3 separate regions of the Homo sapiens genome follow, and all the other regions are linked to region 2. The links are contacts of gene promoters, found by promoter capture Hi-C in human tissues and cell types (Jung and others, 2019). All regions are on one chromosome and are shown on one strand. The core of a region is centred on a gene start or on the middle of the fragment in contact, and the rest is flanking DNA. Distances in the headings are between cores, read along the strand shown.

What was found. The method cuts DNA at HindIII sites, captures the fragments that hold promoters and counts their contacts. A contact is called where the count stands out against the background at its distance.
Region 1: a contact is called between a fragment that was not itself captured here and the fragment with the promoter of DSN1 in region 2, in 1 of the 25 tissues and cell types used here (dorsolateral prefrontal cortex).
Region 3: a contact is called between a fragment that was not itself captured here and the fragment with the promoter of DSN1 in region 2, in 1 of the 25 tissues and cell types used here (spleen).

The regions. Positions count from the first base shown.
Region 1 is chr20:37,166,926-37,170,526 of GRCh38, forward strand. It overlaps MROH8 (maestro heat like repeat family member 8), which reads right to left. Exons shown (of 25, transcript NM_152503.8): 5 at 1,196-1,318. Among named protein-coding and RNA genes, the nearest start is that of RPN2, 11 kb to the right of the region's middle. The HindIII fragment of the contact is 4,728 bases long and covers 1-3,601 here.
Region 2 is chr20:36,772,267-36,775,975 of GRCh38, forward strand. It overlaps DSN1 (DSN1 component of MIS12 kinetochore complex), which reads right to left and starts at 1,497. Exons shown (of 11, transcript NM_001145315.2): 1 at 1,396-1,497. It overlaps LOC124904894 (a long non-coding RNA gene), which reads left to right and starts at 2,869. Exons shown (of 2, transcript XR_007067574.1): 1 at 2,869-2,952. RefSeq lists enhancers at 1,256-1,801, 1,423-1,482, 1,613-1,752, 1,763-1,842, 1,802-2,348. The HindIII fragment of the contact is 22,977 bases long and covers 789-3,709 here.
Region 3 is chr20:36,443,942-36,447,963 of GRCh38, forward strand. It overlaps DLGAP4 (DLG associated protein 4), which reads left to right. Exons shown (of 13, transcript NM_001365621.2): 7 at 2,756-2,996. Among named protein-coding and RNA genes, the nearest start is that of MYL9, 96 kb to the right of the region's middle. The HindIII fragment of the contact is 6,823 bases long and covers 1-4,022 here.

The DNA.
Region 1 (3,601 bases), core at 503-3,002, 390 kb after region 2:
TTGTTAAACCTGTATTATATCATCCTGTTCTTCTTAATGTATTATTTGGAATAGTTCTCAACCTATTTACTTTTTGAAATATGGCTACTTACAGATGGATCCTAAACCCTTCAAGGGCAAGGATTAAGGTTTCCAGGAAATGCGTAACCTTTATCAAAGCACCACAGTGTGTTTGGATATAGAAGATCCTTGGTAACTGTCCATTACTTAAAACTGTTAGCTGGTTAGCCTTGAATTATAAAAGCTATCAGTCTAATCAGCCTTATAGATCTGTGATATGAGAAAGAACTACTCATATTTCTGGAGTATGTAAGAAATTTCAACATCAGAATTTTAAAGCTTTAGAGAAACTGAAGGAGACATTTCACAGATGAGAAAACTAAAACACCAAGAAGTACTTGCTTGAGTGCATCAGCTCCTTTGCAATGCCCTTCTGGATCCTTTGCCATGGAACTGACCACTCAATCTCTACTCTCAGCCCCCCATATGCCTATTTAAACTTGTCACAGTTCCTGTGACATTTTATTATACCTTGCTTGGCTGCATAAATAGGGATTTTGTCTTCTTTGTCTTTGTAGCCCAAATTCCCAAGACAGTTCCTGGAACTGTCAGGCACTTAATGAGGGAATGAATGGATGAGTTGGTGGCAGAGTGTGGCTGGAGTAAGTACAAATAGAACAAAATACGATAACAATAATATAGTCATGTTTCTCAAGTGGCTCGTGTGTATTAGGTACCATGGACATGGCTTATATTTATTTTGAATTTAATGGTCACAATAGCTCTGTGAAGTAGATATAGCTATTCTTGTTTTATAGGGGAGGAAACTGAGGCATTGAGAAGTGAAGTAATTTCCTACAGTTTCACAGCTATAAAAAGGCAGGGCTGTCCCCTGAACCTAGGCATACGATTATGGGGACTGTCTGGGAACTACTGCTTGAGTCATGAGAATGTAGCGTTGGCCTTGCTGAGAAATTCAAATGCTGTTCCTGTCCTTTCTACTCTTCTTTTAATTGGTTTTCAAGGGTGATTACATGTGTGGGGTGGCCATGAGTATTTCTCCTCCATGTGGAGATACTGATACTAGAAGAGTTCAAGTGAATTGATAACATAGGTGAAGCCACTAAAAAATGCTTTGGCCAAGTCACTGAATTTGTGTGATCCCAATCATTTGTGATAAGGTCATAATACTTACATTTAAGGTATGCACAATGTCTGCTATGTGGCTGTGAATGAATGATTTTGCGGTTTCATCATAAGGTAAAGCTTGGCTGAGAGAAGACAGATCTCCTAGGAATTTCAGCTTTTCAAGTTCACCCTGAATTTGTGGGAAAATGATAAAAATACAATTATATGTCATAATCTTATTTGAATAACTGTGGAGAGTTTTTGAAAAGTTTCTTGGAATGCTTTAAATATCTGACATCTCTTTCAACCCAATATCAGTCTTTTATTACAAAGAATGAGTAAATTACGGAAGATTTCAGTGAAATTCCTTGTCCGCTGGCCCTGCCTTGCTTTGAGACCTCGGCTCTCCTCTCAGCTCCATGTTCCATCCTGGCTTTCCCCACTCTTAGTCTTTGCTTTTCTACCTGCCTGTCCTGTGTAGTGTTGCCTGATTAAGCTTCCTAGGCTGGGCATGGTGGCTCATGCCTGTAATCCCAGCACTTTAGGAGGCCGAGGTGGACAGATCACCTGAGGTCAGGAGTTCCAGACCAGCATGGCCAACATGGTGAAACCCTGTCTCTACTAAAAATACAAAAAAGTAGCCAGGCGTGGTGGCGCGTGCCTGTGCCTGTAGTCCCAGCTACTTGGGAGGCTGAGGCACGAGAATCACTTGAACCTGGGAAGCGGAGGTTGCAGTGAGCTGAGATGGTGCCGCTGCACTCCAGCCTGGGTGACAGAGTGAGATCCCATCTCAAAAAAAAAAAAGCTTCCTAAAGGTGACCTCTCTGATTCTGTTACTTCTAGTTCTTTCAATGTCATTAAAAATTCATTATTTTGCTTTTAAAATTTCCTATTAAAATCCAAGTTCTGATTGGAAGAATAAAATCTCTCAGTACTAACATTCTCTTTTTCTTTTTTATTTTATTATTACTATTATTATTATTATTTTTTTGACATGGAGTCTCGCTCTGTCACCCAGGCTGGAGTGCAGTGGCACGATCTCAGCTCACTGCAACCTCAACCTCCTGGGCTCAAGCAATCCTCCCGCCTCAGCCTCCCAACTAGCTGGGACCACAGGCACGCACCACCACGTCCAGCTAATTATTTGTATTATGTTGCCCAGGCTGGTCTCAAACTCCTGAGCTCAAGTGATCCACCTGCCTTGGCTTCCCAAAGTGCTGGGATGACGGGATGACAGGTGAGAACCACCATGCCTGGCCTCTCTTTTTCTTTTTCTTTTTTTTTTTTTTTTTTTGAGATGGAGTCTCGCTCTGTCACCCAGGCTGGACTGCAGTGGTACACCTGGGTTCAAGTGATTCTCCTGCCACAGCCTCCCAAGTAGCTGGGACTACAGGCATGCACCACCACACCAAGCTAATTTTTGTATTTTTAGTAGAGATGGGGTTTTATCATCTTGGCCAGGCTGGTCTCGAACTCCTGACCTCAGATGATCTGCCTGCCTTGGCCTCCCAAAATGCTGGGATTACAGGCGTGAGCCACTGCACCCGGCCTCTTTTCTAATTATACATACATACATATATATATAAAATTCCTATTTATCATAGAACCTTTTTTTTTTTTTTAAGACAGGGTCTTGCTCTGTCATCCAGGCTGGAGTGCAGTGGCGTGATCACCACTCACTGCAGTCTACATCTCCTGGGCTCATGGGATCCTTGTACTTCAGCCTCCTGAGTAGTTGGGACTATAGGTGTGCTTGAACCTGGGAGACGGAGGTTGCAATGAGCCAAAATCGCGCCACTGAACTATAGCTTGGGTGACAGAGCAAGACTCTGTCTCAAAAAAGAAAAAAAAAATCTCTATATATCTTAAGACTTGGAGAATGCGTTTGCTCCTGAAGCAGGGTCCAGTGTCCTTTCTTTTTTTTCTTTTGAGACAGAGTCTCACCCTGTTGCCCAGGCTGGAGTGCAATGGCATGATCTTGGCTCACTGCAACCTCCGCCTCCCAGGTTCAAGCTATTCTCCTGTCTCAGCCTCCCAAGTAGCTGGGATTACAGGCACCTGCCACCATGCCCGGCTAATTTTTTGTATCTTTAGTAGAGATGGGGGTTTCACCATGTTAGCCAGGCTGGTGTTGAACTCCTGACCTCGTGATCTGCCCACCTTGGCCTACCAAAGTGCTGGGATTACAGGTGTGAGCCACTGCGCCTGGCTGGTCCAGTGTCCTTTCTAAGTGTATCTACAAACCACATGAATAAATTGCTATCACAGCACTTGCGATACTCTGACATAATGACCTTCTTATTAATCTATTTCCCTGACTGACTGTGGAATCAGCTCAAGGCAGGTAATGGGCTTTTTTGTTTCAATTCATGGCAGCAATCCAAGCCCTTCATTAACTACAAAGAAATCGAAAGAAAACCATGCTGATATGAAGTATAAGGATTAGCTGAAGTCAAAAGTGAAGGCCAACATG
Region 2 (3,709 bases), core at 247-2,746:
CGGCCCGTCTCCAGTCTATTCTTTGTTTTTGTTTTTTTTTGAGGTGGAATCTCACTCTGTCGCCAAGGCTGGAGTGCAGTGGCGCAGTCTCGGCTCACTGCAACTTTCACCTCCCAGGTTCAAGCAATTCTCCTGCCTCAGCTTCCTGAGTAGCTGGGATTACAGGTGCCTGCCACCACACCTGGCTAATTTTTGTATTTTTAGTAGCGATGGGGTTTCCCCATATTGGCCAGGCTGGTCTCGAACTCTTGACCTCAGGTGATCCGCCCGGCCTCAGCCTCCCAAAGTGCTGGGATTACAGGCCTGAGCCACCACACCCGGCCCAGTCTATTCTTCAGACAGTTGCCGGGACTTTTCCAAAGTGTAGTCAACACCTCAGGTAAACTAGTCCCAATTTACCCATTCCTGCTCTCTCCTCCCAGTCCTATTCCCTGTACTACTTCTGAATCTTTGCACATATCTGTCCTTCTACCTGTTAAACTTATTCATCCTTCCCAACCTGGCTCAAATATGAAGCTTTCACATCACTTATCTTTGGCAGAGTTGGTGGTTATGCCCCTTGGCCTTCGTAGCATTGGCTATAAAATCTGTTTACATGTCTGTCTCCCCAGCCAGGCTGTATTTGTATTCCTAGTGACTGTCAGGAACAACTGCCTGGAAGGCAGGGATGTCACCTAGGCATCTCTTCATCGTCCCCTCCCTCCCAGCAGAAATCTGTCTGTGGGGGGTGCTAAGTAAAAAGATATGAATATATGCAGAGGGACAAAAAGGAAAAGATAACAAGGAGGGCTCGGTCAAGGATCTGAATCCCCCACGGTCCTTATGACAATATCACACAAATCCAGGCTTGGATAATAACGACTGTATCACACAGATCCAGGCTTAGAAAAGCAACAACTGTCAACTGTTAAACGCTTATTCTGTGCTAGGACCTGTGCTATGTAAGCGCTTTACTTGCATCGTTATTCCACTTAATCCCTTCCACAACTCCGTAAGCACCATTAACTCCACTTTGCAGACAGGGGAACTGAGGTTCAGAGGGGCAAAAAGCCTGGCCCAAGCTTGTGACACAGCCAGCCTGGGGGCACAGGGGCAATTCGAACCCCAGCCCTCTACCCAGTCCTCACCCCTGTTTCTGGAGCCTAGACCCCTGGCACGGCAGATACGTCTCTAATGGGGTCGGTAAGGGGGACTGCCCTCGGGTTTCATTTCACCCGGGAGGAGGTCGCAGCGCCCTCGGGGACCCCCAGTGTCCACGGTCGGGGCCGGGGCTGCGGCGGGTCGAGCTGGGCCGACGGGTACGACGCCGAAGAGATTAGTGCGGCGGCGGGCGGGGCCACATCAGAGGACAAGTCTGTGACTTCCTGACGCCCGTCCAGTCCGGAACCTCCGTACCTGAAACACAAGGCCACGGGTCGCTCTCCACAGCCCCAGGTCACTCCTGGACGCCTTGCGCACCCGCAGCCGATACTCCCTGATCAGGGTGAAGCGGTCTCCACCTTCTACGTCACGGTCACCGCCTCCGAAACTCCCGCCAACCAAGGGCGCATGCGCGGCCGTCAGTTTCTCGGGCACGCGCGCGCAGAACGCCTGCCTCCGGCGATGCACATGCGTACACCGCCGCCCGACGCGCATGCGTACACCGCCGTCCAACGCTCCTGCCAGCTCCGCTCCTCTAGTCCAAGTCCTTTAGGTCCTGTCTGGCCACGTCACCACCTCCCCGCAACACCCCGCCCGGGAGTCCCTTTCCGGGACCCGCCACACTATCGTGTCCTTTTGCGCCCGACGGCCCCAGAGCCCATCTAAGATGGGGGAAACAGAGGCCCGGAGAGATTCTTGCCGGAGGAATACAGCGCCTCAAAGGGCATCTGATGCCCTGTCCCCGTCGCTAGGCTCTGGTTCCCACTCCCTTTATCTCCTTAACTCCCAAAATGTGGACCGTGACTCTCCCCAGGGTGGACTGGAGCTCTGAGCTCAGTTTGCCTCACAGTCTATCCCACTCCTGCTCTAGGACTTTTTCTCTCTCATTTCCAGGCCACTCCCTCAAACGGCTTGCTTTACTTGCTTGGTGGGTGGGGGCCTGCCCTCGGGTTTCATTTCACCCGGGAGGAGGTCGCAGCGCCCCCAAGTGGTCGCAGTGTCCTTAGTCGGGGTCGGGGGGTGCGGCAGGTCGGGCTGGTCCTTAGGGGTAGGACGGGGACAGGGCATCAGATGCCCTTTGAGGCGCTATATTCCCAGGCGCTGTTCCCTCTGCCTGGGAAGGCTTTCCCTGCTTTTCCTAGCTACATCCTCCAATTTTTTTGTATTTTGAGACGGAGTCTCGCTCTGTCGCCCAGGCTAGAGTGCAGTGGCGCGATCTCGGCTCCCGGCAACCTCCGCCTCCCGGGTTCGGGTTCAAGCGATTCTCCTGCCTCAGCCTCCCGAGTAGCTGGGATTACAGGCGCCCACCACCACGCCTGGCTAATTTTTGTATTTTTAGTAGAGACGGCCACTAAAAATGTTGGCCAGGCTGGTCGCGAACTCCTGACCTCAAGTGATCCACCCACTTCGGCCTCCCAAAGAGCTGGGATTACAGGCATGAGCCACTGCGCCCGGCCACATCCTCGAATTTTAAGCCTCAGCTAAGGAATGATTGATTTCTCTCCAAGCATTCTCTCTGGCCTTAGGCTGAAAACCAACTGTCCTTTCTGTGCTCCCAGGAGCCCAATCTGTTCCTGCTCCACTATCCCATGCTGGTCTAGGAGGCTCCAGAGAGCGGGCTGCTTCCTCAGCACCCAGCACGACGCCACCAAAATGTCCCCTTGGATGTGCACAGTCCTTTCTTTCACAGAAAAACTTCCAAATATTGAATTATAAGCAGCCCACAGTCCAAAAGAGGGGTTGGAGAGAGGCAGCTGGAGCTGACCGTGGTCATCCTTCCATAGCAGTTGTGGTCCTTGGAAAAGTTTTCTGGTGGGAGACAAAAATCTGCCTTCCTGAAATTTCCACCCTGTGGTTCCAGCCTGCTGGCTGCAGCAGCCATTCTGAAAGCAGAGATTTGCCCTTGGCTCCCTGAATATCACTTTCTGGGGTTGAGAGGTACCCAGTTCCTTTTATGCTTGCCTGCCTCTTAAACTCCTCTCTGTCAACGTGCCAGGAAGAGAACTCAGTGTTCCTTCCCAGCTAGGGCTGGCCATCCTGGGGCACAATGAGAAAATGATTTCATGGAATACAGACCCAATACATCTTCTACATCGTTTCCCTGCTTTGAATTGTTGCATGGCTCCCTCCTGTCCACAGGAGGCACACATTTTTTTCCCCTATAAGGCACTGTGTCATTAGGCTGGGTGTGGTGGCTCACGCCTCTAATCCCAGCAGTTTGGGAGGCTGAGGCCTGCGGATCAGTTGAGGTCAGGAGTTTGAGACCAGCCTGGCCAACATAGCAAAACCCTGTCTCTACTAAAAATACAAAAATTAGCCAGGTGTGGTGGTATGCACCTATAATCCCTGTTACTTGAGAGGCTGAAGCAGGAGAATCACTTGAACCTGGGAGGCCAGGAGAATCACTTGAACCTGGGAGGCCAGGGCTGCGGTGAGCTAAGAACATGCCACTGTACTCCAGTCTGGGCAACAGAGCAAGATTTCATCTCAAAAAAAAAAAAAAAAAAGAAAAAAGAAAAGAAAAGGAAAAAGAAAAAAGGCACTGTGTGATCTGACCCAGCCTCTTCTT
Region 3 (4,022 bases), core at 1,336-3,835, 330 kb before region 2:
GGCACAAAGCAATTAAGTGACTTGCCCACGTTCACATTGTGAGGAAACGATGGGCCAAGGGTTGGACCCCTGGCAGTCTAGTTCCAGAGCCATGTGGTTCCTGTGTGATCCCAAAGCAAGACCCCATGCCCCCGGCAGTCACAAGGGTCTCTTCATAACTTCAGGCTGCAGTTTTGGAGGAGAAACACCTATCTCTTTAACACTCCTTCTGAGTGAATTTTGGATATGCCACATGGCCTATATTTTAATTTATCAGTACTGTACAGTAGAACTTTCTGTAATGATGGAAATGTTCTATAATTCACACTGCCCAATGAGATAGCCACTAGCTATATGTGACTTTATTTATTTACTTATTTTTGAGATAGGGTCTCACTCTGTCACCCAGGCTGAGTGCAGTGGTGCGATCATGGCTCACTGCAGCCTCAACCTCCCAGGCTCAGGTGATCCTCCCACCTCAACCTCCCGAGTAGCTGGGACTACAGGCACGCACCACCATGCCTGGCTAGTTTTTATTAGAGACAGGGTCTCGCTGTGTTGCCCAGGCTGGTCTCAAACTCCCGAACACAAGTGATCCTCCCACATCAGCCCCCTCAAAGTGCTGGGATTACAGGCGTGAGCCACTGTGCCTGGCTTACCTGTGGTCTTGAGCAAGTCAAATGTGGCTCCTGTGACTATGGAACTTTATTTAATTTTAATCAAAAAAAATTTTTTTTTGAGATGGAGTCTCGTTTTATCACCCAGGTTGGAGTGCAGTTGCCCAGTCTTGGCTCACTGCAACCTCCTCCTCCAGGGTTCAAGTGATTCTCCTGCTTCAGCCTCCCAAGTAGCTGGCACCACAGGCATGTGCCACCACGCTCGGCCAATTTTGGGATTTTAGTAGAGACAGGATTTCTCCATGTTGGCCAGGCTGGTCTTGAACTCCTGACCTCAAGTGATCTACCCACCTTGGCGTCCCAAAGTGCTGGGATTACAGGCATGAGCCACCACGCCTGGACTAATCAATTATTATTATTATTTTTTAATTTTTTTAGAGACAGGATCTTGCTTTGTCCCCCAGGCTGGAGTGCAGTGTCACAATCATAGTTCACTGCAGCCTCCAACTCCTGGGCTCAAGTTACTGGGACTTGAGGTGCATGCTACCACTCCTGGCTAATTTTTGTATTTTTAATTTCTTTTGTAGAGCTGGGGTCCCACTATGTTGCCCAGGCTGAATTTTAATTAATTTAAACCCAAATAGCCATACATGGCTCATGGCTGCCATACTGAAATGCACAGATTTGGCCAGGCGCAGTGGCTCATGCCTGTAATCCCAGCACTTTGGGAGGCCGAGGCGGGCAGATCACGAGGTCAGGAGTTTGAGACCAGCCTAGCCAATATGGTGAAACCCCGTCTCTACTAAAAATACAAAAATTAGCCGGGCATGGTGGCACCTGCCTATAGTCCCAGCTACTCAGGAGGCTGAGGCAGAAGAATTGCTTGAACCCGGGAGGCGGAGGTTGCAGTGAGCCGAGATCGCGCCACTGCACTTCAGCCTGGGAGACAAAGCGAGATTCCATCTCAAAAAAATTAAAAAAGCACAGATTTAGACCTTTCCATCCACCCTCCAAATTGGGTGAACACCCATCTAGTTGTTTGACCTGATGCAGTCTCAGATGAGAATGCGAGCACCTATTTCATGTAGATGAGGAGAAACTGACCCAGAGAAGATAGTGATGGCCTGAGGTTACACAGCTGGGTGGGACACAGCTGGCCCCAGGCCCAGATCAACCTTTTCCTCCACATGGTCAGTCAGCTTGTGCCCCCTCCCGCTGTGGCCCAGGCCAGCCCCCAAGATGTCCACATCTTTGGCCAACTGACCCCCCAGCTTATCCTCTGTGGTCTTCAGTTACCAACATGGCCTGAGACATGGGTCAGATAGCCCTTCCAGAACCCTCAAAGAGTATGTGCATGGTGAGGCCCCTCAATGCTCATACCCTTGGCTTCAGATTTTCAGGGTCCTAGACAGTCATTTCTGGAGAAATACTTAGGACCCATCTACACAAAGTTGAACTAGATGCAAGATAGCAGATAGCATACACATCACCATTTTCCATACTGTCCATGGCAGACATCATTAATCAATCCTCACTGCAACTACCCTCACTCCAGTTTTTTGCTTCAGCTTCGTCTCTGGCCTCTGCCTCCATTCCAGACCCCTTTCCCAACATCCATTCTGTATAAGAGGGCTAGATTAATCTTCCTTAAATACATATTTGGAGTGTTGGTTCTGCCACTTCCTCACTGGGTACCCATGGCAAGTGTCTTCCCCTCACTGACCCTTGGTTTCTTTCCTTGTAAAATAAAGGGATTGGACCATAGGATGGTAAATATCCAGCTACCTACCGCCACCCCCATTCCAACATTCAGGACAGACATTGCTAATTGATTATAGACCTCTTTCACACTAAATTCAGATGTGACCTTGAAATCTATTAATCAGTGTGGACCCTGATTTTTATCACAGTTAATATCCTGAGATATTCCAACTTTGTCCTCATTATAGAGATGGGAAAATTGAGGCCCAGAGAGGTAGGACTGTTTCTTTCTTAAGGGCTCCATCTCCCCATCCCATACGCTGAGTGAGATGGACAGGGGTGGGCTGAGGTCAGACCCCACAGACTGTCCAGCCCTGCCCTGAGCCCACCACCAAGAACCGCTCCCCCCAGGATGGGCAAGATAGCCAGCTCCCTCATGCCTGCCTTTGCCTGGACAGGTACGGGAGGCAGAGCTGAGTGACCAGTATGAGGCGGCCTGCGAGTCAGCCTGCAGTGAAGCGGAGTCCACAGCGGCAGAGACGCTTGACTTGCCACTGCCCAGCTACTTCCGCTCCCGCAGCCACAGCTACCTGCGTGCCATCCAGGCAGGCTGCTCGCAGGAGGAGGACAGTGTCTCCCTGCAGTCCCTCTCCCCACCGCCCAGTACCGGCAGCCTCAGCAATAGTCGCACGCTTCCGAGTGAGTACTGTGATGAGGGAAGGGGTTTTTTTTCTTTTCAAGGGGACCCCAAGGACCATACCTGGAGGGCCAGCCTGGGAGGATACAGGGAGGAATCTGTCTCAGGCTGGCCCGCACCAGGGGGATGGTTGGGAGCAAAAGCAGGAGGCCTTGGAGCTGAACTTCCAGCCAATTGGCCACTGGAGCTCAAATGGGGGTCCCAGAGGCAGATGCCACCCCTGGGGGGCATGGGAGGTATTGGAGGGGCTGGAGCTTGTAGGGTACTTGGTTGCTCCTTGGCTCAGAGCAGCCACCTGCTATAGTCAGGGCTTACTGCAGCTTGACCTGCCTCTTGGAATTAGTTCAGGTAGGCAAACCTGTAGGGCAGGTTGGAACCTGCAGAGAAGCCTGCAGTGAGGGTGGGGTCTGCACTGAGCCTTCTCAAAGGGATGTGTTTTACAGGCTTCTCTCATATACACAATCAGGGAATACCTTCTGGATTCTTGGGTGTTTTGTTGTTGTTGAGACAGAGTCTCACTCCACACCCAGGCTGGACTGCAGTGGCATGATCTTGGCTAACTGCAACCTCTGCCTCCCAGGTTCAAGCAATTCTCATTCTTCAGCCTCCCAAGTAGCTGGAATTACAGACACATGCCACCATGCCTGGCTAATTTTTGTATTTTTAGTAGAGATGGGATTTCACCATGTTGGCCAGGCTGGTCGTGAACTTCTGACCTCAAGGGATCTGCTCATCGTGGCCTCCCAAAGTGCTGGGATTATAGGCGTGAGCTACCATGCCCAGCCCTGGATTCTTGTTCTAAATCATCTGAAGATAACCCATATGTGATCAGAGAAAAAAGGGGACCCTGTATAACTGAGCAAGCCATGAAATAATAGAAAATTGCATGTTCTCACTCATAAGTGGGAGGTAAACAATGAGGACACAGGGAGGGGAACATCACACACCAGGGCCTATCAGGGGGGTGGGGGGGGGGGAGACAAGGGGAGGGAGAGCATTAGGACAAATATCTAATGCATGTGGGGTTT